5 separate regions of the Homo sapiens genome follow, and regions 1, 2, 3 and 4 are each linked to region 5. Evidence: promoter capture Hi-C in human tissues and cell types (Jung and others, 2019). All regions are on one chromosome and are shown on one strand. The core of a region is centred on a gene start or on the middle of the fragment in contact, and the rest is flanking DNA. Distances in the headings are between cores, read along the strand shown. Region 1 overlaps JAZF1 (JAZF zinc finger 1). Region 2 overlaps LINC02981 (long intergenic non-protein coding RNA 2981). Region 3 overlaps LINC02981 (long intergenic non-protein coding RNA 2981). Region 4 overlaps SNX10 (sorting nexin 10). Region 5 holds the start of HOXA5 (homeobox A5).

Region 1 (4,720 bases), core at 1,732-4,231, 780 kb before region 5:
TGGTGGGACAGGGCTGGGGGGCTGCAGGGGGAATGGAGCAAGAGGAATGACTGTAAATGTTGGCGGCGCCAGCCCAGCCATGCTCCCATCCGTTGGCAGCCCAACATCTGCTGGGAAGTGTGCAGTTCCATCCAGTCAGCCACAGCCTCCCAGTAGGAGATAAGCCGGATGAAGGAGGCTGAGTCTGGCAGCGGATTCCAGGCCTGATAGAATAATGTCTGACATTCAACTCTGCAAAGTTGGGATAGAGTGTGTGGAGACGATCCCACAGGAGCCACCAGCTGGCCTGTTTTAACTTTGGCTGTTGACAGTTCATGCCGAGAGCACTTGTTTCTGAATTCAACAAATCTGGAAACTCGACGTTTTAATTTCGGGTTTTCGTTTGGAAGAGTCATTTTACTGGAACCCAAACCCTTGCAGACATTACCCTAAGGACATGCTGGTCTTGTCTATACCACTGAGTAGAGAAGACTAGAAAAACCTCCAACACCAAATGGCTGTCCTTGGGAAAAGCAGCAGTCAGTTATGCTAAACAACCACAGAAGGCATGGTCTTAGAATGTCACCAGAGTCCCCAGGGAGCTGCTGAGGCTCATCTGGAGACTGCCGCCAACAACCACAGCCTGGGTTCTTGCCTCCAGACCACGGCCTCCTCATAACTCCCTTCGGGTCCTTAAAGAGACCCTGTTAAATGATTAAAATGCTGTGGAAGGAAATTTTAACATATGCAATATCTGATTCTTTTCATCATCATATCACTTCCCATTTCTTCCACTTATCCTGGCTTCTAGGCGAATGTTGATCATAATGTTTTACTGCCAGGGTGAGGAACTTTGAGGAGACGGCTCTGGCACCTCTGTGAGTTGTTAGAAGCATGTATCTCTGGGTGCTCCAGGAGGTTTATGAGTTACCTGGCACAGATTAAACTCAATAAAAGGAAATATTTTGGTCAAATGCTTCCTCTTTTAAATTAATACTCTCTTGACTATTATGCAAAAAAAAACCCATTATTAAAAGCTGTTAGTACTTTTGCTGACTTGAAAATATTAGGAAAAATTTTCCTATTAAAAGTTATTTTGCTGACTTTAAGTTATTTGGTTATTTTGCTGACTTTAAGAATATTTTATAAGGCCTGGCGCGGTGGGTCATGCCTGTAGTCCTAGCACTTTGGGAGGCCGAGGCGGGCGGATTGCCTGAGCTCAGGAGTTCGAGACCAGCCTGGGCAACACCGTGAAACCCCGTCTCTACTAAAATACAAAAAATTAGCCAGACATGGTGGTGTGAGCCTGTAGTCCAGTCCAGCTACTCAGGAGGCTGAGGCAGGAGAATTGCTTGAACCTGGGATGCAGAGGTTGCAGTGAGCTGAGATCGTGCCACTGCACTCCAGCCTGGGCGACTGAGTGAGACTCCGTCTCCAACAAAAAAAGAATACTTTATAACCAACATAAAATGTGGTTCGAAAAGTACCATCTAAATGAAAATCAGACCTTATTTATTTGTTCTGTTTGTCTTCAATGCACTTCCTCATTTTTATCTTTATGTATTTCTTTCTGTAATGATTTATATCCATTTCATCCAAAAAGTTTAAAACACAATATAAAATGCCCTGTAAAAATTTATACTAAGTTCCCTAAAACACTTAAGAAATTCACTGAATTTTTCTAGGCATACACTTCATTCATTCGAATGAAAACTTGGCTGAGGAAATCATAGAGTTCGTATAACTGACTTCTAATTTCTTCTTCCTTATACCTAGGCTTCTAAAGCCCAGGTGTGATATAAATTCTTTTTTTAAAAAAATACTTTTCTATTTTTGTAGAGACAGGATCTCACTACATGGCTGATCTTGAACTCCTGGTCTCGAGCAGTCCTACCACCTCGGACTCCCAAAGCACTGGGATTGCAGGCTTGAGCCACCATGCCTGGCCAGAAATTGCATTTTTAAGTGAACAGTTCAGAGCCCTGTATTTTTCATGGATTATTTTAAGAATTACGATGATGATGAAGATGATATAATCCCTAACACTGCAACCCATTATGAAGTTACCAGGGGCCCTCCAAAATTTTGCTATCAAGGCAACATCCCTTAAACAAGTTAACAGAGATGCTCTTTTTCAGTGAGTCTTCTGGAAGAATCGATGCCAGTCTGCCCTTATGACAAACATATTTCTTAATGAGATCTGATTTACGAAGTTTTGACAATTATGCTTTTCCCCTCTCTTACTGCCACTTTAAGAAAAATCATGCTGGTAAGCTACACTACAAAACTTCTGGCCTGCAGAGGGCTCTATAATACCATATTTTCCTAGACAACACTTGTAAAAAGGAAAAAAAAAAAAAAAGATACTTGCTGGAAGGGGGAAGGGGAAGCCCAGAGGCTTTATAATGCTTCCAGCAGGCAGTCTGGTTGCAGTCTGGTAAACAGACTAGGAATTGTGGGCAAAGCCCTTTTCCTTGAGTTTTCCACCAACCATGAGATCAGATGACTCTGTCCGGACTCATTACTTTAATAGCCTACAGCTAGTTCACATAGCAGCAGGAGTCCACCAAAAAGGCATTTAATTATTGAAACTAAAACTGGTACTTGTAACTGCCGGTTAGTAGTAGTCAGATTTTTTCAGTATTTCAAGTAATTTATAAAGCGCTTACACACATAAATAGAAAGCTTTAAATGCTGGTATTCCATAAAAAGTAAATAAAATATATTTTTGTGCATTAAGACTTAATTAAGTGGCATGATTTCATGTCACAAATTTAAAACGGGCAGGTGAGACTTGCCAACATTACTACAGCTGTGTTTTACATTAGGAAATTAATTAAAATGGTCGTTTATGCTTTTTTCCACTTACGGGTATTTAGACCTCTCTATTACACCATATATTTTCCCTTCAATCATTATATTATGGTAATTTATCTTAGCAGGTGATATCTTACTCTGTTGTCGGCGGAAGTGGGGAGCATTAGTCAACTAAAAAATTTGTGCTGGGCTACTGAGGCAGATCAGACAGCTGGAGGCACTTGCTGCTGGCCAGGAAAGAAGAGGGTCTTATTCACATGCTCCCCTTTTATCCCATCTTAGCAGAATTTATTTTCTATTTCACTAGAACAAAGTTTTTTCTGATGTCAGGATGGGAAGCAGAGGAAAGCAGAAAAATGTTTGACACGCCATATGACACATCGTCATATAGACTTAGCTGTTACATGAGACCTTATTTTTGAAGCCAACCTGCTTACACAGTTCAGTTATGGAATGTGCAAAACCTAAAACCAATTAAAACATGCCCAAGTGAATAGTTGATATGCAGTTTGTAATGCAAATAAATAATGTCCTGATTTTATATATCAAAGCTAAATAAAGACTCCCTTGAGATATCAAGAACAAATCGATCACTCTGTACTTATTTACTGCAGTTATTTATGTTAACAATTATAATAAAATTATGACTTGATGAAGTTTTAATGATGTAAGTAATTTTGCTCCCCAAGAGGCATCAGTTGCCAAATGAAGCTGAAGTTTTAAGGAACGCTAAGGACTCACTGTACTAAAACATCACCATAGTGCCTTTAATATTGGATGTACCTTACAATAATGTGGATTAGTTTTGGGTCAGGGCCAGGAGCTTTTGGTTCCTCAAACACCAAAGGCACTTCCCTTAAGGCATTCACTCCTGTAAGAGAGTCCCTTTAGCTTGGATTCTAAGGGTAGCAATGAAGGAGGATTCCAAGGTGCAAGCAGTAATACAACTTGCACACAGAGTAAACTCCACAAGTTGTTGATTGTAAAGTTGTTTGGAAACCAGGATTGAATTTGCCTCTACATACATTGTCATTAGTGATATTTAGATTTAGAGCCAGTTCCCAGCTAGTACTTTTTGAAATGATTACGTATTAATTATTTAATAAATGGTGTGGGTAGAATTGGACTGCTGGTCCAATCTTCCTTGGCGTTCCAGAGCACTCCTGTAGTCAAATAGCACAAAACTGAGCTTGCTCCTTCCTTTTGTAACCATAAGTCACCCCTCTTTTGTATGACTTCACCCAAGCAAATTTGGCACTATTGTATTGATTATAAATATGTTATTTCCTGTTGCTACCTTATCATCGTAAAATGCATCCTCATGCTTGTTCTGTGTTATCCAGCTCTGATAGTTACATTTTTGACAAGATAAGCAGCTACTGAGCTTTAAGGCATTGTAGACATGCTTGCATTTTCCGTTTACCTTTGAAAAATTAAATGACTTTTCTTTAACTCTCATCACAGGTTTTAGCATGAATGACTTATGATCTTTATTCCTTATTGGTTTATTTCTCCAAATTTTCCCATTTTAGTTTCTATTCACAATGGGGGGCCAGGTTCAAAATATTTTTCTCTCCTAAGAGCTCAAAAATCATAATTCTTCAAAATATCATTTTACATTTCATGCTAATGAGATAGTCTACACACCTATGTTGAGCATTTCCTCTCCTAAGAGCTCAAAAATTGTAATTCTTCAAAATATAATTTTACATTTCATGCTAACAAGATAGTCTACCCACAGGTGTTGAGTATTTAAAGTTGCCCATTACTAGGACCTGTGTTTCAGTGCTACCTTCATCACTTAGTAAGCAAGGGACCTTCAGTCAGCCTCTTAACTTTTAAGAACCATGATACTTTGCATGCTTGAAAGCACAAATCTGAAGACAAAGGACTAGGCCAGATAACATCACAAAGTCCCATGTTT
Region 2 (4,675 bases), core at 1,638-4,137, 730 kb after region 5:
CCTGATGCTTAATAAGCTATTTACTTTGGACCAACAGCTAATCTGTTAATAACTGATTTTAAATTTTTACAGTCATTTGTCTCTGGCAGGACCTGGGACCACGAAAAGCAGTCCTTTCCTACCTGATGAATTGGCTTTTTCTTTAGCAAAAAAAAGAAAGAAGAAAAGAAAAGAGAAAAATTTAACTCAAAAGTCTTCATGGTTGCATTCTGCTGACAATTGGCATTCAATAAGAAATTTCAATGCAAAAAAAGAAATGGTAATGCTTCCTGTGAAATTTATCTGCCTGTGAAATCGTCAGCAAATAATATAAGTGGACGTTTTTCTAATGGTGGCATGGGGTAAAGACCCTCTTCAATATGAAGTAAAGTGTAATTGTACTATAAATTTACAGAGCCTAAAATTCTTAATTAACAAAATTGATGCTCATTGCCTGACTGGAATGGGATATCTAAACTAATGCCATTACAGCCCTTTAAAATGATCTAAATTGCATACCATATGATATATGTATTTTTGTAGGCTATATGCAGAAAAGTGAATTTTGCTTTCCATTAAAAAAAAAGACAATTGAATCGACAATGGTTATTGTAATTGGTATCACACAGCAGTGCTCTGCAATTTAATCACTGCTTCTAAAAATGGAACCGTGGATAACTACTGTGTTCTGAAAAGTGGCGGCCACCCCGTGCATGAGAGTGCTGTGCGCATTTATAAACACCGCCTCTTCCACGAAGTTAAGCTTTCCTAAGAGATGCCATCTCTAATTTTGTAAATAAGAATGACCCCCCAAGGCTAGCATTCCCATCAAATATTTATTAAAACGCACCCCAAGACCTCTCATCTCAAACTGGAATTAAACTCCTCCAAATGTCTCTGAAAGATGAGCGTGATTTAAAACGTGAACCAGCACACTGACGAAGTGAAAAAGAGGGACTCTGGGCAAAGTGGTATTTTGGTATCCGTAAGTGGTGTCAGGTCTTCCTGGAGAGCTAGTATTATAAATTAACAGATGAGACATTGTGCAGAGCCTCTAAAAGGAAAGGCTAAACTGTTTGAAGGATAAAAGCCCTAATCTTATTAATATTTTAGATCCTGCAAGACATTGAGGCTCCATCTGCTGTCAGTAATACCTGAGAAAGAATCAAGGCAGCTGGAGGACAGAAACCACGGCCTCCCAATGGTCTGCTGACCTTCTTGAGAGGCAGATATCATGTGACAGCAATTGCCTGTCTCAGCAGACATGCTGGAAACAGGAGAAAGTGTTAAATATAACCAGGTAGACAGTGATGAATTGACATGCTGAAAAATCGAACGCTTCAGTAATCAGCCTAAGGATCTGATATCAACAACATTTTTCAGTTTTGTCCAAATTCATTGAAAGGTGTACTTTAGCAAGTTCACTTCTCATTGGTAAGACCTTTCATCTTTATGCTGCTTTTCTGATTGGATTCAGTGTCATGATCGGTTTGGGTGGCTCTGTGCGCAGAAAGCAGACGGGCTGCTTGTGAGAGAAGGAGGGCTGGGATGAGCACAAATAAAAATGGGTTTTACCCCAACATTAATTTTAAAACTATTAAATATCTATCAAAATGCTTATTTAGAAAGAATTATTGAAGCCATGGTATATGAAAATGCATCAGGTACTGTGCTCCAACAGCACAGTAAACCTGAAATATTGAAATATTACCCTCTATTTTGCAGCAAGAAGCTTCTATAACTATAATTCTAATTACAGAACTCTAATTAATGTCTATGTGGCTTCAGATAACTTCATTAAATCTTTAGAATATTTATATTCTCCAAAGACAATCTCTATCCGTTAGAATAAAAAAATCCTATAAAATAACTTTTTTTAAACGCTGCTGATACGCCTTTCTTTTTATGAGACATGTAAGTCATAAAATTTACTTTAAGGTTTCATTCATCTCTGTAACAGTATTCCAAAAATGTGTTAACTCAAAAACACTTTTTTTCCTGGTACAAATGTATAATACAGCTATCAGCTGAGATCACTCTCTGCTTTGAGGTTTAAACAAAAACTGGCTGAAGCCTCCTTCCCACATCCTGTGAAGGGCCAATGTCTTCCCCTAGATGTCTGAGAATTCCTGACAGCTTATATTCTCATGGTCACTTCCCTATCTCCAGTGGCTTCTTTTGGCTGGATTCTTGACCTCACTTGTGTCTCGTCTCCCATAGCTGCCCCATGCCAACCTAGATTTTGAATGTAACCCCTTTTACTTGATTTATCCCTCCACCCCCAGAAAACCCCTCAGTTCTCGTGAAGCACAGTCTTTCCATCTGCTTAAGGCTCTCATTAGGTCCCAGGGTCTGCCGCCATCTTGCCTTCTCACTCACTTCAACCCTCTCCTCTCTTATTTCTCCTCTGCTCTCCACCCGCCCCCAAATTCCTGTAAACATCTTCCACAGAGTAGTGTGCTCTCTCTCAGTCTAGCTCCAGACTGTCCAGGCTATCTCCTGAGGGCCTTATCTTCATAGCCAAATGCTTCCGTTAAGGTGGCAGGCAGTCTCCTCCCTGAAAGGAATTGTTGGCTGGCTCGTAAAGTAACACCATTTTCCTCTAGGCTCCCCATATATTACAAGCAAGATCTGACTCATTCCTGCAAATACTCAGGAAAAGAAACACAAAGGACAACTGATTTTGTGATAAGCACTATAGGAAAGCATGGAAAGTCTACAACAGATAGGAATATAAAGTCAGAAATTGGGTGCACTATAACTTGAGGCCAGGGCTTTGAAAGGATCCTGCTTTCAAATTCGCCCTGGTTGGGGTCAATAAAAGGATTGATTCATAGAAATGCCAGAGAGCCATGTTAAGCTGGTCATGAGCCTTCATCCTGATGTCTTCCTAGGAGTAAGCTCCTGGCTTTTCCCAGAAAGTTCAGTGTAGGGGCTCCATCAATAGTAGAACATAAATTGAGACAATGCCCTACTACTTGCATGGGTAGAAAAAATTCCAGGAACTGACAGCAAGTAAGTTGCTTTCCCTTCACTCCCAGCTTGAATATAGGAGATAAAAAAAAGTACCTCTCCAATATCCATACGATTCACACTGCTCAGAACTATGTGGATAATAACACAACATGTGACACACACCTACATTAGAAGAACAGCCTTAGAGTGTTAAAGCCTGGAATCCATCAACACAAATAGAGTGTGACTCGATTCATTAGCAAACTCAGACACAACCGGACCTCTATGGGGATAATTCATGCAGAAGAATTGTATTTTAAAATGTCTAAATAGGTTGCTATTTAGTGCAATTTTTTCCAGCTCTTAAAGCAAAGAAATGACAATTTCTAAACAAATGATAGAAGTTAAGTCAACTAAGTTCAAGCCTAAACAAACATTTTTATCTTAGTTCAATGCTATAAGTGTATATTCAATGTCTGTTATGTTTAACACAGTGGGAGGCAGAAGTGAGAATGCCCTTCAGTATACATTGAAATAAAACCATTGCAAACTGCCTCAGAAGGAATTGAGTAGTTAATTAATAAGCTTTTATTTAAATGTTGCAACCCATAAAACAATTCCTCTGCTACAATATGGCTGCTGTATTAGAGGCAAGCTGGGCAAAACTTCCCTGGGCATTGAAAAAAATGTTGCATTTCTAGGGACCTGGAAAGAAAGTGACTTGTCACAGGCTTTTTTGGGTTTTTTTGGGTTTTCTTGAGATGGAGTCTCACACTGTCACCCAGGCTAGAGTGCAGTGGTGCGATCTTGGCTAACTGCAACCTCTGCCTCCCAGGCTCACACCATTCTCCTGCCTCAGCCTCCCGAGTAGCTGGGACTACAGGCGCCCGCCACCACACCCGGCTAATTTTTTTATATTTTTTAGTAGAGACAGGGTTTCACCGTGTTAGCCAGGATGCTCTCGATCCTTGTGATCCACCCGCCTCAGCCTCCCAAAGTGCTGGGATTGAAGGCATGAGCCACCGTGCCCGGCCAACTTGCCACACACTTAATCATAATTGACTAAACAATTCCTTTGAATCATAACATGTATGATTCAATTTATTTATATCAAATTTATATATATGATATGTTATTAAAATAGTAAACATTTTTATAATATAATAAATACCAACCATGTTATATTACGGTACTGTCCACTGTTTCAGGAACTTAATGTATACTAATTCAAGTACTTATCACAACAACACTATAAGGTAGGTACTACTATTATTCCCATTTACAGATGGGAAACTGAGGCATGGAGAGATAGTATCTTACCCAAGGTTTACACAAATAACCACTGGCCAAGCTGGGGTGTGAACACAGGCAGTCTGGTTACCCAGGCTTCACGCTTGGCATCTGATGTGTCATATGCTGGTTCCACTAAATGTGGGCCCACAGCTGAACCTCAACAGTGTCATAGTAGCAGCACCAGAAACAAGGACAGGCTTCCTGTGGTCTGATTACCAAGTACCCTGAGCTCTGGAGATTCAAGAAAACCTCAGAAATTCAAACTAACTGCAGGAAGGGTAATGGCCAAATTAAGGGAATTTGCATTTCAAAGTATTTTAGACTATACTGGTGTGGTTAATTCCAAATGCATGTAGTGCCTTCAACCACAGGCCATTAAGTGTGCCAAGGATAGGTTCCAGGGGCTAGATTAAATAAATAGATATGTTTCGCACATGAGGTTTGATAA
Region 3 (4,474 bases), core at 1,269-3,768, 660 kb after region 5:
AGCATCTTATGAGAGGTGTGGAAAGTATGAAATTGCAGCAGACCCTGCCCTCCCTGTCCTGTCATCCAGTTAGGGAGATGCCCTGTGCATATCCAGTGAGCCGCCCAGGCAGGGATAGGTGTCAAATAAACACCACAGGCCATGAGGACTAGGAGTGCTCAGGGACTAGAGAGGCTCTCCAAGGGCTAGGCTTTCTGGAAAAGCTTAGGGAATAGGTGGAAAACACCCAATGCCTTGCGGGATGGCTCAGAGAGGTGGAGAAGGGAGGAGCCTCAGGAGAGGTGGGGACACTTTGTACATGTATGACAGGAGCACACTCGTCCCAGCCCAGTGACTGAGGCTCAGATTCGGCAGACTCAGCAGGGCAGCTGTTGGGCATGCAGCCATTCCTGCTTGCTCCTCCATGGCATGGTGCACCCAGAGCTGCCTCACAGGCTGCTGAGTTATGTCTTTTAAGCCAACACTTGGCTTCTGCCCTGAGCTAAGCTTCTGACTGGCTTTGTGAAGGATTACCATGGTATTTCCAATCCTTCACACAGCATCTTTGTGATCCAAACCAAAAGTGCTTTTGGCTCAAGTCTCGCAGGTTCCCAAACCCACCCATCACTAGTATTCTTACTTTCTTCTCTGAGCATCTCAAATTTGCATTTTCTTTTCTGTGTCATTCGCTACTGCCTCACCCCAGGCACTATCCCCTGCAGGGCTCACCACATTTAGATTACTATGGCCTCTCCCACTGCCCCAGCTGGTCTTCATAAGAAACTCATTCACTAAAAGATTTGAAAATGTGCACACCTTTTGACCCATTAATTCCATTTTTCAAAATTTATCGATGACTAACTTATCTTTTCTACTCATTCTTTTGTTTGTTCATTCAGTGTGAACCAGGAGACTTTCTAAGTGCCAGGGCTACACAATGATGAACAAGCCAGAAACTCCAGGCCCTGACAGAGCTTATAGTCTAGGTCATTTGTTTGTTTTTCCCCTCAATACACACACATACATATATATATATATATGCGCCCTTGGGCAAGACACATCTGTCGTGCTCTGAGAGATAGTATGCGGTCACTGTGTCATACCATAAAATAAAAGCCCATTGACCACACCGCAGACACAAAATGACAGTTGCAGAGGGAATAAGAAGGAAAACTGTTTCAGGTTAGGTTTTCAAACAGTGTGCCACACCCCAAGAGCCTCAGGGGTGGGCTGGAACTGGGTGGGATGTGGGCACTGGCAGAAAGAGGAAGGGACACTTCATTTGTGTATCACCTGCGGGACTCTCCTGTTCTCAGCACCCCCCTGCCCCACCTCTCCAACCAAGCAGTTCTTCATCATTTTCTCCATGGCACTCAGGGGCTTCTTAGTAAGATCTATTACTATTTGAACAGAATGTTCTGTGACTGAAAAAGTTTGAAACCACTAGTTGTCTCAAGGTTCTTAAAGTGCTTCTATATTTAGTCTGGAAATCTTCCAGACTAGAAGATTTCCAGCCCCCTGCTGCCCCAATTCCCTTTAAATTCTCTAGCTTTTTATGTTTCATTAATGGGCTTTAGTGATATCTGATACATGTTGGGTGTGTAATTCATGGGCAATAATATATGGACATGGACATGATAAGTAACAAAATCTCATCAACCGTGCAAACATGCTAGACACTCAAAGTCCTCAAACAATTCTGCTCAATATTTAGCAGAGGGAAAAACTAGCTTAGTTAGGAACACAACAAAAACAGCAAAAATGTTAGCAGTTTTAACAATTTGACATGCAGCCTAGATGGTGTTATTTGGCATTTTATATACTATTTGCTAAGTTTCCACAATGTGCTAGATAGCAAACTCTCTGCTCTGATTCTGGAGCCAATAGATTTTATAACCACACTTTCATCATTCACATACCACCATTGTGATTTTTTTAACTGAAGGCCACTTGTACTACTATATATTTAATTTAAGCAATTATTTTGTATTTAAATAAATTTATTTTAAAAGAAACCTTTTTATCACTACCTATACATAGAAGACCAAAAACATTTGCCATAATAGAAGGTAACTGTAACAAATTCACAACGATGAAAACAGTAATTTTTTTGTGTAGCATTTACTATCCCCTTTGGTTTCACCAGGGATATGGGCACTGCATTTTGGGAAACATTGTTTGAGCTCATACCATCACAGTATTCAGCTAAGAAATTAAAAACAGGTGTTGTTTGTCTTTGTCCCCGCCACCTCATCCTACAAACCCCCTGCTCCCGCACACCCACATCCCCGCTCCCCTCTAAGCATTCCCTTGCTCTAAGCTAGCCCACAACCAGTCATTGATAAGGTATTAAACTATCACCTTATCATTTTTGCATATGGATAACAGACGAATTTTTCAAAACTCAAATATCAGATCTTTATTGGAATTTTGGATATAATGCAAGAGAATTATATCATTTAATTCAAAGCACATACAACAGGTGATCGACTAACCACTCCTACTCATAAACCAGTCCTCATGCCTCTCCACAGGCTCATTTTTAGATTTCCCCCAAAACACAGAAATTTGCCCAAGAATGGATTAAAGCCTTCAGGGTCAGACAGATAATGGTATTTTCAGATTGTGATGACACTCTAGAAAAAAAAAATATGGCTCAACCATTTCATTAGCCTATACCTTATTGTAACCACATCTATAGCTACCTTCTTCCCCCAACCCACCCAGGAGAGCAGGAGGGGGAACTGGTCATGGAGACTGGAGATTGAATTTACATCAGTGGTGTGGTTGTCACGCATTGTTCTCTCTTACATTCTGAAAGTCTTTCCTCCCTGGCTGTTCATTATGAAATCCTCCACCCAAGGGACTTTGGGAGCATTGTGGCATGTCAGATTTTCCAGGAAGCAGACTCTGAAATAAGATTGTGTCCAGGGGGCCTATTGGAGAGTTGTCCAATAGGAACCACACCTGTGAGTGAATGCGGGCAGCAGCCTTGGGCTGCAGGAGAGGCTGAACTGGGCTGCAGTCACAGCAGAGGCCTCAGCTGGCCACACAGGGGTTGGGATGGCCCCTAGAACTGGCCCAACTGAGGCAAGGGGGTCCAGCCTTTGTATCCCCCACAGTGGCCAGTCATTGAATGCAAGATACCCCCAGGAGAGGTCATATCCTTGAGCAAGGCAGCCCTCTTTGGCCAAAGGCCAAGAGCTTCCACTGTAAGCCACCAGCAGGCAGTGCTCCTGGTAGCCGAGGGAATGATGCTTTGGTCCTGAAGGAGAATCTGGGTAGAGCCCCACAGCATCCACTGCAAGAGTAAACCCACTAGCGCCTGGCTCCCGGGACCCTCCAAGTAGTGGCAACATCAATAAACCATAGGGCCTGATTTCTAGGCAGCACCTCACAGTGATAAATGATGGATCAGTAGGCCTGCTGGCTGCAAGAGAAGCTGAGAGGCAGGTAGTGTTGGTGTGTATGTGGGGGTAGGGCAAGGGAGCAGAACACCCCTCGTGGACCTTGATATTGTGCTCTACCTTTCCGCATTCATCCCTCCTCCCCTGAAAAAGTCCTGGGCAGGAAACAAATGTGGTCCTGATGCCTATTGGGCCATCAATCTTGAGATACAGCATTCAATTTCAAAGTTATTTGACCAAAGCCAAGTTACAAATCTTGAAGGAAGCTGGCTTTGCAGAGAGACAAGGGCATTTGAAAGCATGAACTGGGGTGAACCTTATAAGCAAAAATCTCAGAAGTCCTTGGTTGCCAACAGTTAGCCAAGCACTTGCTGGACTTACTTTGTTTCCTGGGCCTATGGAAATTTTACCTACAGGTAGAATTGCCCATGCAAAAGCCCGAGAAGTAACCCTGGGGGAGAAGAGTGGCTCACACTGCAGATTTCCTCCCTGGTCTTCTTTCTTCCCCTAAAGCCAGACCATGCAAGAGAGTGATAAAGCCAAGTTCACGGCTTGTCTCCATTCATTTTGTTCTTTTTGGGAAACGGGGAGGAGCCTGGAGCATTTCTCCTTCCACATTTCCTTAAATGGGTCTGACTCAGGTAGAGAGGAGACCACCATCATTGTGTAGTAAGACAGGGGTGGGAGTGACGGGGCTTCCATAGTTACCATTTGCTGAATGCTTAGTGTGCTCGGCACCATGCTGGGTCTGCATGTATCTTCTTATTTAATCCTTACCAGCACCCGCAGAGGTAGATCAGATTATTCTCTTTTTCCCTAGATGAATCAAAGATCAAAGAAATCAAGTAATGTGCCACAAACTCACAGGCAACCACCTACTGAAAGGCAAAATTGGGACTGAAACCCAGGTCTGCCTGGCTCCAGCCCATTTCTGTTGATGGTTAAGAAGCCCCTCCCAGCACTTTAGGAGGCCAAGGCAGGTGATCACCTGAGGTCAGGAGTTTGAGACTAGCCTGGCCAACATGATGACACCCCGTCTCTACCAAAAAATACAAAAATCAGTCAGGTGTGGTGGCGCACACCTATAG
Region 4 (4,816 bases), core at 1,283-3,782, 780 kb after region 5:
AATGTGTTTTCTCTGAAATGCACATCTTAGAATATGAAATCAAATCAAAGTATACCTTTATATTTAAATAAAAACTGGTTTATCTTTTAGCAAAGATGTTGACATATGATCATTTAGTCTCTACTGATAGTTCAATAATTATGTAAGAGGAGACACTAAGACCAGATACAGGGGACAAAACTAACACACTAAAACCCAAGTAGAATTTTGTCCAACATAAGATTTTTCCGATATAACGATCTGTGAAAAATAGATCATGTATTTCAGACCAAATGAACCTTACCTTATATTCTGCTTGTTTAAACAAGTAATAAGGAAAGTAAATCTCTTTTGGCCATTAATATCAATTTAGTGAAAATCCAAGGTCATTATAATACCAAATCCTTTTCTACAAAATAAAACAATTATTTCTTAACAAAGGCAAAAATGCCTAAAAATGCACAGTATTAAAACCAAAATCTAGCTGTCCCCTTTGCTTCAGCAGGTTTACAGTTTGAGAAAATATTCTTTACTGGTCTATTAGAAGGAAAAGTAAAACCTTTGTGCTTTTTAAAAGGCAAAACCTCAAGCAAAGCAGCTAAATCCTTCTTTTTCCCTCTGTGTCCTCCGCCCTGGGTCCTCCCAAAAGATGACCATGTCACATGATAATGATTAATTTACCAAGTACAAGTAGCTAAGTAGTAAATCCCTCTTACTACTCTTTGAGATTTATTTTCTACATTTACAAATATTCACCATTCTTGTTTTTAAATACTTCAGATTAAGAGAAGAGTTATAGAGCAACAATCCATTAATACGAACTTGGATCGTGAAGTCTGTGAAGTCTGAGCAGAGTGTTTCCTGTGGCCTCTGTCAGCGGTTTCCTGCCTGCCATAAGTACAAGGAACTGTTCATGGGATTGTACTCGTGGCTTTGTTTCTGTTGGAAATGTGTTTTATTTTCTTTATAAAATAATGGGTAATCTTTAAAATTGATTTTAGATGGTTTGAGGCATTACACCACAACAGTAATGAGCACTAATGCCAATGATATTGGACACAAATTCATTTTAGCTTTATTTCATGTCTGAAGCAATTCTACTGAGCCTTGAACTGCTCACGTGTTGTTATTAACTTGCTAGTAACTTAACACATGGGTACAGCAAACAAAAGTGATCAGAGTCCAGGTTGATCGGGACCTCAAGGCTACTGTCCTTTTTCTTGAGCTATAATTCAATTTCCAATTTTACTGTACATTAGACTCATTATTTCCCAGCGTTTTCTTTTTCTGCTCAATACTGCCATCTGGAGGACACACAGATGAAAAGAGAAGGAGCCAGGCTCACCCAGCTCACAATTCCAAAGAGCCAGAAAGATGTGGCTGGGGAGGGGACATCTGAACACTCCCCCAGGCCTAGAGTTCAAACCAGTGAGTCGGCTAGGTACAGTTTTGGTTTTTGGAATCTCCTCTGTTTCTCTGGCTAAATTCATGCCACCATACTCCATGAGTTTTAAATAAGCAAAAATAATTTTTAAATGTATTTATATGCTTATTTTAGTCAGATAGTTCATTCTGAAATTTAAAATGAAAATTTTTGAGAGTGTTTTCCCATCTGGTTAGGTGAGCATAATTAATTTATTTTGAGTACTATTTGGCTTACTATCAGAGAGGGCTGTGACTGCCACCATCATAATATTAAATACTATTTTTTCCTTAGTCATGTTTGTGCCATATTTTCCACAAACAAATCTAATAGCCCAAAATCAATTTCAAACCTAATATAAAGAGTACTTTGTAAAACAGTCAATAAAATGTCATTTGTAGAAACCTCCATTTAAAAAGTATATGATTTTCAAACCTTTATAAAAGGAATAAAAAATAGCCTCTAGGATTTTAAAAGAATTTCTAGAAAGATATTTATAGTGCAAATCAGAAGTTATTCCTTTCCCCATAACAGTTTTAGACTAAACAAAGCAAAATCTGTTTTTTTTCCCTAAACTGGACACAGTTGAAAAGCACAGTTTTCCTCAACATGATTTTATTAGATGTATTATATGCTGGTTTAGCTGAGAATATATAGCTATGCAAAATCATTTCATCCTAACTAAGGATGTCCTGGGTCTGCTGAACCCAATACAATGATATATATACATAACTGCATAGTACATGGAAGGTTAGCAGTTTGATGTAGAAAAAAAAAATTAACTCAGCCTGTTTAGCTCTTACTATAAGAAAAAATAAAACCTACAAATCTTCATTGAAGACATTCATGATCTATGCTGTGGTGCCCTCTATTGAACACAAAGACATAAAAATCGTGTGTGTGTAAAACTAGCTGTCATGGTTCAACACTAGCCTTTTGTAAAAAATCTTTAATATTCCTTAATATTTGAAGAAATACAAAACCATGATACTAAAGTCTAAACTGTAGGGTAAATGTAGTTGTATTAATGGGATGAATTCAGTAAAGAAGGGAAGCGGCTCCCAGTCATGAACAAATCTATTCAAACCTAAATTGAAAATCCCATTCAAACCTAAAAATTAGTAGGAATTCCATTTTTCATAGTTAGAGACTTACTGAGTTTATATTTTTTAGCCTATAACTTTCTTTTCATAACTATTAGAAGGGACTTTAAGTTTATAATTACTCAGGGGCAAGAATACAAAAGGGAGATTATAGTTAAGACTGAAGAAAAATGAATATATTTGAAAAATCTCACAATCATACCAAATTTAGCCAGCATTTAAGAGTACTGCTAATTTTAAATTTGCCAGGTTCTGGGATTCATATAGTATGTCCATCTTTCCTATAATTTCTTTATCTATAAAACTGAGATAATACCCAACTCCTAAGATTTTTAGTACTGAGACTAAAACATGTAAAATGCCAAACACGTAGAAAGTGTTCGATAAATGGTAGAAATTATTCTTATTTGGCACCTAGTCAAAGAAACAATTTTCCAATTCCTCTACAAAGATCAGTACTTTCTTATTACATATGTATCATTTCACAAATGACCTTAAAGAAAAATAGGTATATATACACATATACAAAGACATTGTGGTTTCAAAAGGTTTGAACATATTTAGTGCTTCTGGTTCATAACTTCAAAACTCACATGAAAACCAGGCTTTAAAAATGCATGCGAAAAACCTACAATACAAGCATGTTTCCATGTTTTAATGCTGTGGTTCCTAAAATTCCTCTACAAACAAGGTACAGGCTATTGATGGCTGGCCCTACTTAACAGGTAACCAGTGGGGGCTCAGAGGATGTCAAACTGGGGCCAAGACACAGTGCCAAGGTACACATCACATCCAGTTCCCTAGAGTGGACCCTGGTTGGGTGAGGGGAGGGGGCACCAGGGGCAAAGACATGGAGGGTACTACCTTACACAACCCGGGCAAGCACAGATCTGAGGGACACAGAAGGGAGGCTGGGGAGGGTCAGCAGGGGCCGCAGAGCTCAGTTCAGGCCTGAAGCCAGCCCTGTGGTATTTGACTCCTCACTTCCTTCAGGTTTAGGCTGTGTGGAAGCACCAGCTTTCATTTTTAAAGTGAAATATTAACTTGTAGACAAATGTTCACATACCACAGGGGAACAAATGATATCACAAGAGAACCCCCTGCCAATTCCATGATTTGACAATCCAATCGGATGACAATCCAGATTCAGTGTTAATGAATCTAGCCGTAGCCCTGGATGTGTACACAGTGCTCCCCCTAGAAGGAAGTGTCAGGACAAGGACTTGTTCATTCTGTGCAGTCCTATGTCCGTGGCACGCAGCCTGGCCCAAAGCATTCACTTAATAAACATCTATTGAATGAAGGATCGCTGCATGGTTTTTAGAGTTTTTTTCAAGTCCTTTTCATCTGTAGGACACAACCACCCAGTGAGGTTGGCTATGTGTGGGTACTATTATCCCACTCTATAGCAAACAAAGGCTTAAAAGGAATGAAGTGACTGTTCCAAGGCTCACATGCAGCTAGAAAAAAAACCAGGAACCATGATTATGGGAGACCTAGAACCCGGCTCCTTGAGTTCCTGAACCAGGACACTTTCTACTATGACATCTGCATCAAACACAACCAGCAAACAGTCAAACCATGCACTATGCAAAAATAACCTGGCACAAGCATAACCCCACTATGGCTGAATGACACTCACAGGGTCATTCATTTGGGTAGATCAACTGTGGATAGAAAGGTTGTGTTCAAAACAACGAAGTAATTCCTGGTCAAAAACACATACCCTGCACTTAACCAGCAATATAATTCAGAGGTACGTGCTGCCTTCTGACCTGAAATAAGACTTCCCTACAGAAGACAAGATGCCACAGCTCCCCGAGGACAACATGTCCTACACTAGAGTGACAGGCAATTCTGTAGAATTGTGTGGCAGGGACCACATCTCAAGGGAGAGGCCATCAGCCACCTGGGCCTCATAGAGACAACAATTAAAATCAGAGGCCTCCTCTAGGGGAAAGGGCAGGAAAAACTTGGCCAGGTCTCTGTCCTGCCATGCCTGTGATACCCCCCAAAAATACAATGAAATGTTTTCGGAGGACTTGGCTCTGCTAATCAGTTCTTCTGGTCTCTTGCCATGTTTATTCCTCTGGCTTCTCTTCATTGGCCCACTCTCCCTCAATTTATAATCTTGGATCTTTCTGTATGCCTCTAGGACACCTTCAAAGAAAAGGCACTAAGTCAATCTAATAGAAATAAATATTAATATTAATGTGCATACTTAATATCCAAACCCTTTATGAGAGAGCCAAATGGGGAGGAGGCAGTATATTTATTTCAGGCTAGCTCTAAGGTCCTATTTAGTGAACCC
Region 5 (4,645 bases), core at 22-2,521:
GATTCCCGCTCCCAGCCTCCGATAGCGCCCGCGTCGCCGCCACAGCAGCGTTCAGGACCCAACGAGGGGCCCAGGGCCATGGGAGCCGCCAGAGTCCTGGCTTCCAGACGTGCCAGGGGCGCCTGCAACGCCGGGCCTCCAGCGGGGAGACTCCACTTGCCTCTCAGCTATATTTGTGATTTACTTGAGTCTTTCGGAGCCGTGGAAAATAACTACAGAGATACTAGGCACTGCCAAGGAATGCTTCCATTATCGCCCTCATTTTACTCCTGGAGGTCTAAGCAAGACCCCAGTAACCCGCCCCACGGATCCCCAGACCCCAGGCAGCCTCTGTGGCTGCAGGGAGCCTGGGCCCACTCGCTGGGTTCAAGGAGAACCCTCCGACTTGGGGCCCGGCTGGCTCGAGGAACCGGACCCTGTGATGAAGATTTTCCAGGCTGGATACGTAAGCAAATCAAATCGCAAACTAATGACACGAAAACCATATTCACACGAAAGAAAAATCGACTACGGTTATAAAAGTGTATGGAATTTGACCTCGCCTTGGAGAAACACTACACAAAAGCTATCTTTAATAGACGCCTGTCATTTAAGAGCGGCAGGGACACTGTCCCTCATGCGCTCGCAAAAACAGAGCCGTAATTGTAGCTGCTGCTGCTGCGGGCAGGATTTATTTCTCCAATTGGCTAAATGGCTTTCCCCCTTCCCCGAAGGTGATATCTGTATTTTCAAAATTCAGAGCTGCTGGCAGGACGGTCAGTACCGACCCCAACCTCGACACAAAAATAAGAGGGGCTGCAAAACGGGGGAAATAAAGTTGTTGTAAATAAAATGCAAGTCACCACCTCCCCCCAATCCTCTGCATCCTCGCCGGGCGCGCGATCGGCAGCTGACGGCCTAACAATTGGTACATCCTAATGGAACTGCGAGGGAAATGCAATAATTTTGCCATAATGGGCTGTAACCTCAATTCGACCCCGGCCCTTGCAGCCCCCGGTCGGAAGCTGGGCGATGAGCCCTGCCTCCAGCGGGTGGCGCTCGAGTCCGGCTGAACGGCGGCAACTGGCGGCGGGCACGCGCCCGGGGCGCGCGCGCCACCCCCCTCGCCTCCACCCAACTCCCCTATTAGTGCACGAGTTTACCTCTAGAGGTCATCAGGCAGGATTTACGACTGGACAACAAAAGCACGTGATTCGAAGTCGTACCCCATATTTGGGTGCCTACGTAGGAGGGAACCAAGTACATGTCCCAGTCATTTCCATAATTCATCATAAATTGTGCAAGGGTGCTATAGACGCACAAACGACCGCGAGCCACAAATCAAGCACACATATCAAAAAACAAATGAGCTCTTATTTTGTAAACTCATTTTGCGGTCGCTATCCAAATGGCCCGGACTACCAGTTGCATAATTATGGAGATCATAGTTCCGTGAGCGAGCAATTCAGGGACTCGGCGAGCATGCACTCCGGCAGGTACGGCTACGGCTACAATGGCATGGATCTCAGCGTCGGCCGCTCGGGCTCCGGCCACTTTGGCTCCGGAGAGCGCGCCCGCAGCTACGCTGCCAGCGCCAGCGCGGCGCCCGCCGAGCCCAGGTACAGCCAGCCGGCCACGTCCACGCACTCTCCTCAGCCCGATCCGCTGCCCTGCTCCGCCGTGGCCCCCTCGCCCGGCAGCGACAGCCACCACGGCGGGAAAAACTCCCTAAGCAACTCCAGCGGCGCCTCGGCCGACGCCGGCAGCACCCACATCAGCAGCAGAGAGGGGGTTGGCACGGCGTCCGGAGCCGAGGAGGACGCCCCTGCCAGCAGCGAGCAGGCGAGTGCGCAGAGCGAGCCGAGCCCGGCGCCGCCCGCCCAACCCCAGATCTACCCCTGGATGCGCAAGCTGCACATAAGTCATGGTAAAGCCAGCCTTTTTCTAAATCCACGCGACCGCGGGGACGCGGCTCTCGGTCCCCCCTCTCTTCTCTGCCGCCCTCTCCCAGTCTCTCTTGGTCTCATTTCTCCCAGCCCTGCGGAGCTCTCCTTGCCGTTCTCCCTCCCCTGCCTTCCTCCTTCCTCCTCTTCTTTGCGAGCACCCTGCGCTCACAAATAGTGGGGGAAATGGGCGTTCTCTGGGACAGTTTAGACGTTGGAAGGGGGAGGAAGCAAAAAACCCCTCTGGAACCCCACGCCTTGGGACGCGCTCCCGGGTCAGGCCAGCCGAGCAAGGCGCAGAGAGGTAGAGGATGGCTGTAGCAGCCGTGAATCGGGCTTGTCACGGCGGATAATTTATGAGGAGGGCTACGCTGGGGAAACAGCGTTACTAATTACAGCCCCCGAAAAGGGGCTTGGGGGAAAGAATCGAGGCGAGAGCCTGCAGGATTCTGAATTTTGGGGGCAGGAGGGAGAGAGAAGGAAAGGGAAGAAAAAGAAAACAGGCTCCCCAACCCTGCAGGCTGGAAACGGGAGGCGGCTCTCGGGGCTGGAACTTTGAGGGAGGGTGACCCGAAGGCCACTTGGGCGCTCAGGAAAGGGCCTTGCTTCCTGGGTTTCTGTGCGGTGGGCAGCCTGGGAGGGCTGTGCCTCCCGATCGGGGCGCCCGGGGCAGGGCGGAGGGGGCAGGAGAGGGGCCAGGGAAAGCCGGAGTCCGCCGGGACACGGCCCCAGCCTCAGATGGGCAGATTGTTCCCAGGGTCCAAATCGTATTGTTTTCTTTCTAGAAAGGAAGAGAGAAGGAAATTCGGGAGGGGTGTGCGGGCTGGTAGGCAGAACTTGTTGAGCTTTTCGCCTGGGTTCCCTGCTCATGACCCAAGCTTGTCCCCCTGGCGGACTTTGGAAGACAGGAGTTGGTGGCTAAACCGCTGACTTTTCTATTGCAGACAACATAGGCGGCCCGGAAGGCAAAAGGGCCCGGACGGCCTACACGCGCTACCAGACCCTGGAGCTGGAGAAGGAGTTCCACTTCAACCGTTACCTGACCCGCAGAAGGAGGATTGAAATAGCACATGCTCTTTGCCTCTCCGAGAGACAAATTAAAATCTGGTTCCAAAACCGGAGAATGAAGTGGAAAAAAGATAATAAGCTGAAAAGCATGAGCATGGCCGCGGCAGGAGGGGCCTTCCGTCCCTGAGTATCTGAGCGTTTAAAGTACTGAGCAGTATTAGCGGATCCCGCGTAGTGTCAGTACTAAGGTGACTTTCTGAAACTCCCTTGTGTTCCTTCTGTGAAGAAGCCCTGTTCTCGTTGCCCTAATTCATCTTTTAATCATGAGCCTGTTTATTGCCATTATAGCGCCTGTATAAGTAGATCTGCTTTCTGTTCATCTCTTTGTCCTGAATGGCTTTGTCTTGAAAAAAAATAGATGTTTTAACTTATTTATATGAAGCAAGCTGTGTTACTTGAAGTAACTATAACAAAAAAAGAAAAGAGAAAAAAAAACACACAAAAAGTCCCCCTTCAATCTCGTTTAGTGCCAATGTTGTGTGTTGCACTCAAGTTGTTTAACTGTGCATGTGCGTGGAAGTGTTCCTGTCTCAATAGCTCCAAGCTGTTAAAGATATTTTTATTCAAACTACCTATATTCCTTGTGTAATTAATGCTGTTGTAGAGGTGACTTGATGAGACACAACTTGTTCGACGTGTAGTGACTAGTGACTCTGTGATGAAAACTGTGACTCCAAGCGGTGTGTCCCTGCGTGCCTTTATAGGACCCTTTGCACGAACTCTGGAAGTGGCTCTTATAAGCGCAGCTTCAGTGATGTATGTTTTTGTGAACAAAGTTACAAATATTGTCCAAGTCTGGCTGTTTTAAGCAAACTGTGATCAGCTTTTTTTTTTTTTTTTTTTTTTTTGTATTTGTTTTTAAGGAAAAAATACTGACTGGAACAAAAAATAAACTTTCTATTGTAAGTTCTCTTGGTCTGGTTTGTGCCAAATAGTGAGCGGCTCTGTCTGCTTTTCTGTCTGTCTGTGCAGTCTTGGAAGCTGTTGGGTCTGAGGCTACCTGAGCAGATGACCTGTGCAGGGAGACCTCATACCAACACTGTCCCATCGCTTCCCTACCTCTGACCCATTGCAAAGTTCAGGGCAGAAGGTGGAAAAAGCTGTAGGCTGTTCCAAAGCCCCAGAACACCCTGTCCATCTCTGAGGAAACCAAGTTAACTTGCTGGGTACAAAAAAGAGAGAAAGAGCAAGAAAAAAGGAGAAAAAACCCAGGGCTTTGTTAGCCGCCCTCAGGCCACACAGATCCTGCCTCTTTCCTAAGGCTGTCCTAGGCCTCCACTTGCTGAAGACGCTGCTATGTCTGTCTGTGGACCCCAAACCCTCTGCCCTTAACCCATCCCAGCACCCCTTCCCCACTCTTCACCCGGGACCCAGTTGGCTTCTTTTGCTACAATTAATTTGCTACAAATTGAAGGTACTTACCCCATCCTAGCTCGATTGGGAAACTCCTCAGAGCAGCTAAAGCGCAACTAGAGATTTGCACATTTACCGACTGCTTACACTGATGCCGTCTTTCCTTTTAAAAGTTATAAAACAGTAAACTTTATAAGCCCCAGTTCCGGCTATATGACATTTGGGTGCCAAATGAATAGGGTTTTGTCTATGAATTAGATCGTAAAATCATCCATAGCACAGACAGATCGGCTCACTGGCTA

What was found. Contacts are between HindIII fragments. The study calls those that stand out against the background at their distance.
Region 1: a contact is called between a fragment that was not itself captured here and the fragment with the promoter of HOXA5 in region 5, in 2 of the 25 tissues and cell types used here (bladder and lymphoblastoid cells).
Region 2: a contact is called between a fragment that was not itself captured here and the fragment with the promoter of HOXA5 in region 5, in 1 of the 25 tissues and cell types used here (spleen).
Region 3: a fragment that was not itself captured here is called in contact with the fragment with the promoter of HOXA5 in region 5 in 1 of the 25 tissues and cell types used here (spleen).
Region 4: a fragment that was not itself captured here is called in contact with the fragment with the promoter of HOXA5 in region 5 in 1 of the 25 tissues and cell types used here (dorsolateral prefrontal cortex).

What each region holds. Positions count from the first base shown.
Region 1 is chr7:27,918,957-27,923,676 of GRCh38, reverse strand. The region is part of intron 2 of JAZF1 (JAZF zinc finger 1); the gene reads left to right. Among named protein-coding and RNA genes, the nearest start is that of TAX1BP1-AS1, 180 kb to the right of the region's middle. RefSeq lists an enhancer at 471-520. The HindIII fragment of the contact is 8,119 bases long and covers 1-4,720 here.
Region 2 is chr7:26,415,932-26,420,606 of GRCh38, reverse strand. All of the region lies in intron 1 of LINC02981 (long intergenic non-protein coding RNA 2981), which reads right to left. Among named protein-coding and RNA genes, the nearest start is that of SNX10-AS1, 19 kb to the right of the region's middle. RefSeq lists an enhancer at 4,275-4,675. The HindIII fragment of the contact is 3,319 bases long and covers 1,228-4,546 here.
Region 3 is chr7:26,486,692-26,491,165 of GRCh38, reverse strand. The region is part of intron 1 of LINC02981 (long intergenic non-protein coding RNA 2981); the gene reads right to left. Among named protein-coding and RNA genes, the nearest start is that of KIAA0087, 50 kb to the left of the region's middle. The HindIII fragment of the contact is 4,346 bases long and covers 346-4,474 here.
Region 4 is chr7:26,366,192-26,371,007 of GRCh38, reverse strand. The region is part of intron 5 of SNX10 (sorting nexin 10); the gene reads right to left. Among named protein-coding and RNA genes, the nearest start is that of LINC02981, 30 kb to the left of the region's middle. The HindIII fragment of the contact is 8,434 bases long and covers 1-4,816 here.
Region 5 is chr7:27,140,307-27,144,951 of GRCh38, reverse strand. It overlaps HOXA5 (homeobox A5), which reads left to right and starts at 1,271. Exons shown (of 2, transcript NM_019102.4): 1 at 1,271-1,906; 2 at 2,867-3,900. The coding sequence starts at 1,345. The coding sequence ends at 3,117. All of the region lies in intron 1 of HOXA3 (homeobox A3), which reads left to right. It overlaps HOXA-AS3 (HOXA cluster antisense RNA 3), which reads right to left and starts at 4,588. Exons shown (of 3, transcript NR_038832.1): 1 at 4,413-4,588. The HindIII fragment of the contact is 16,485 bases long and covers 1-4,645 here.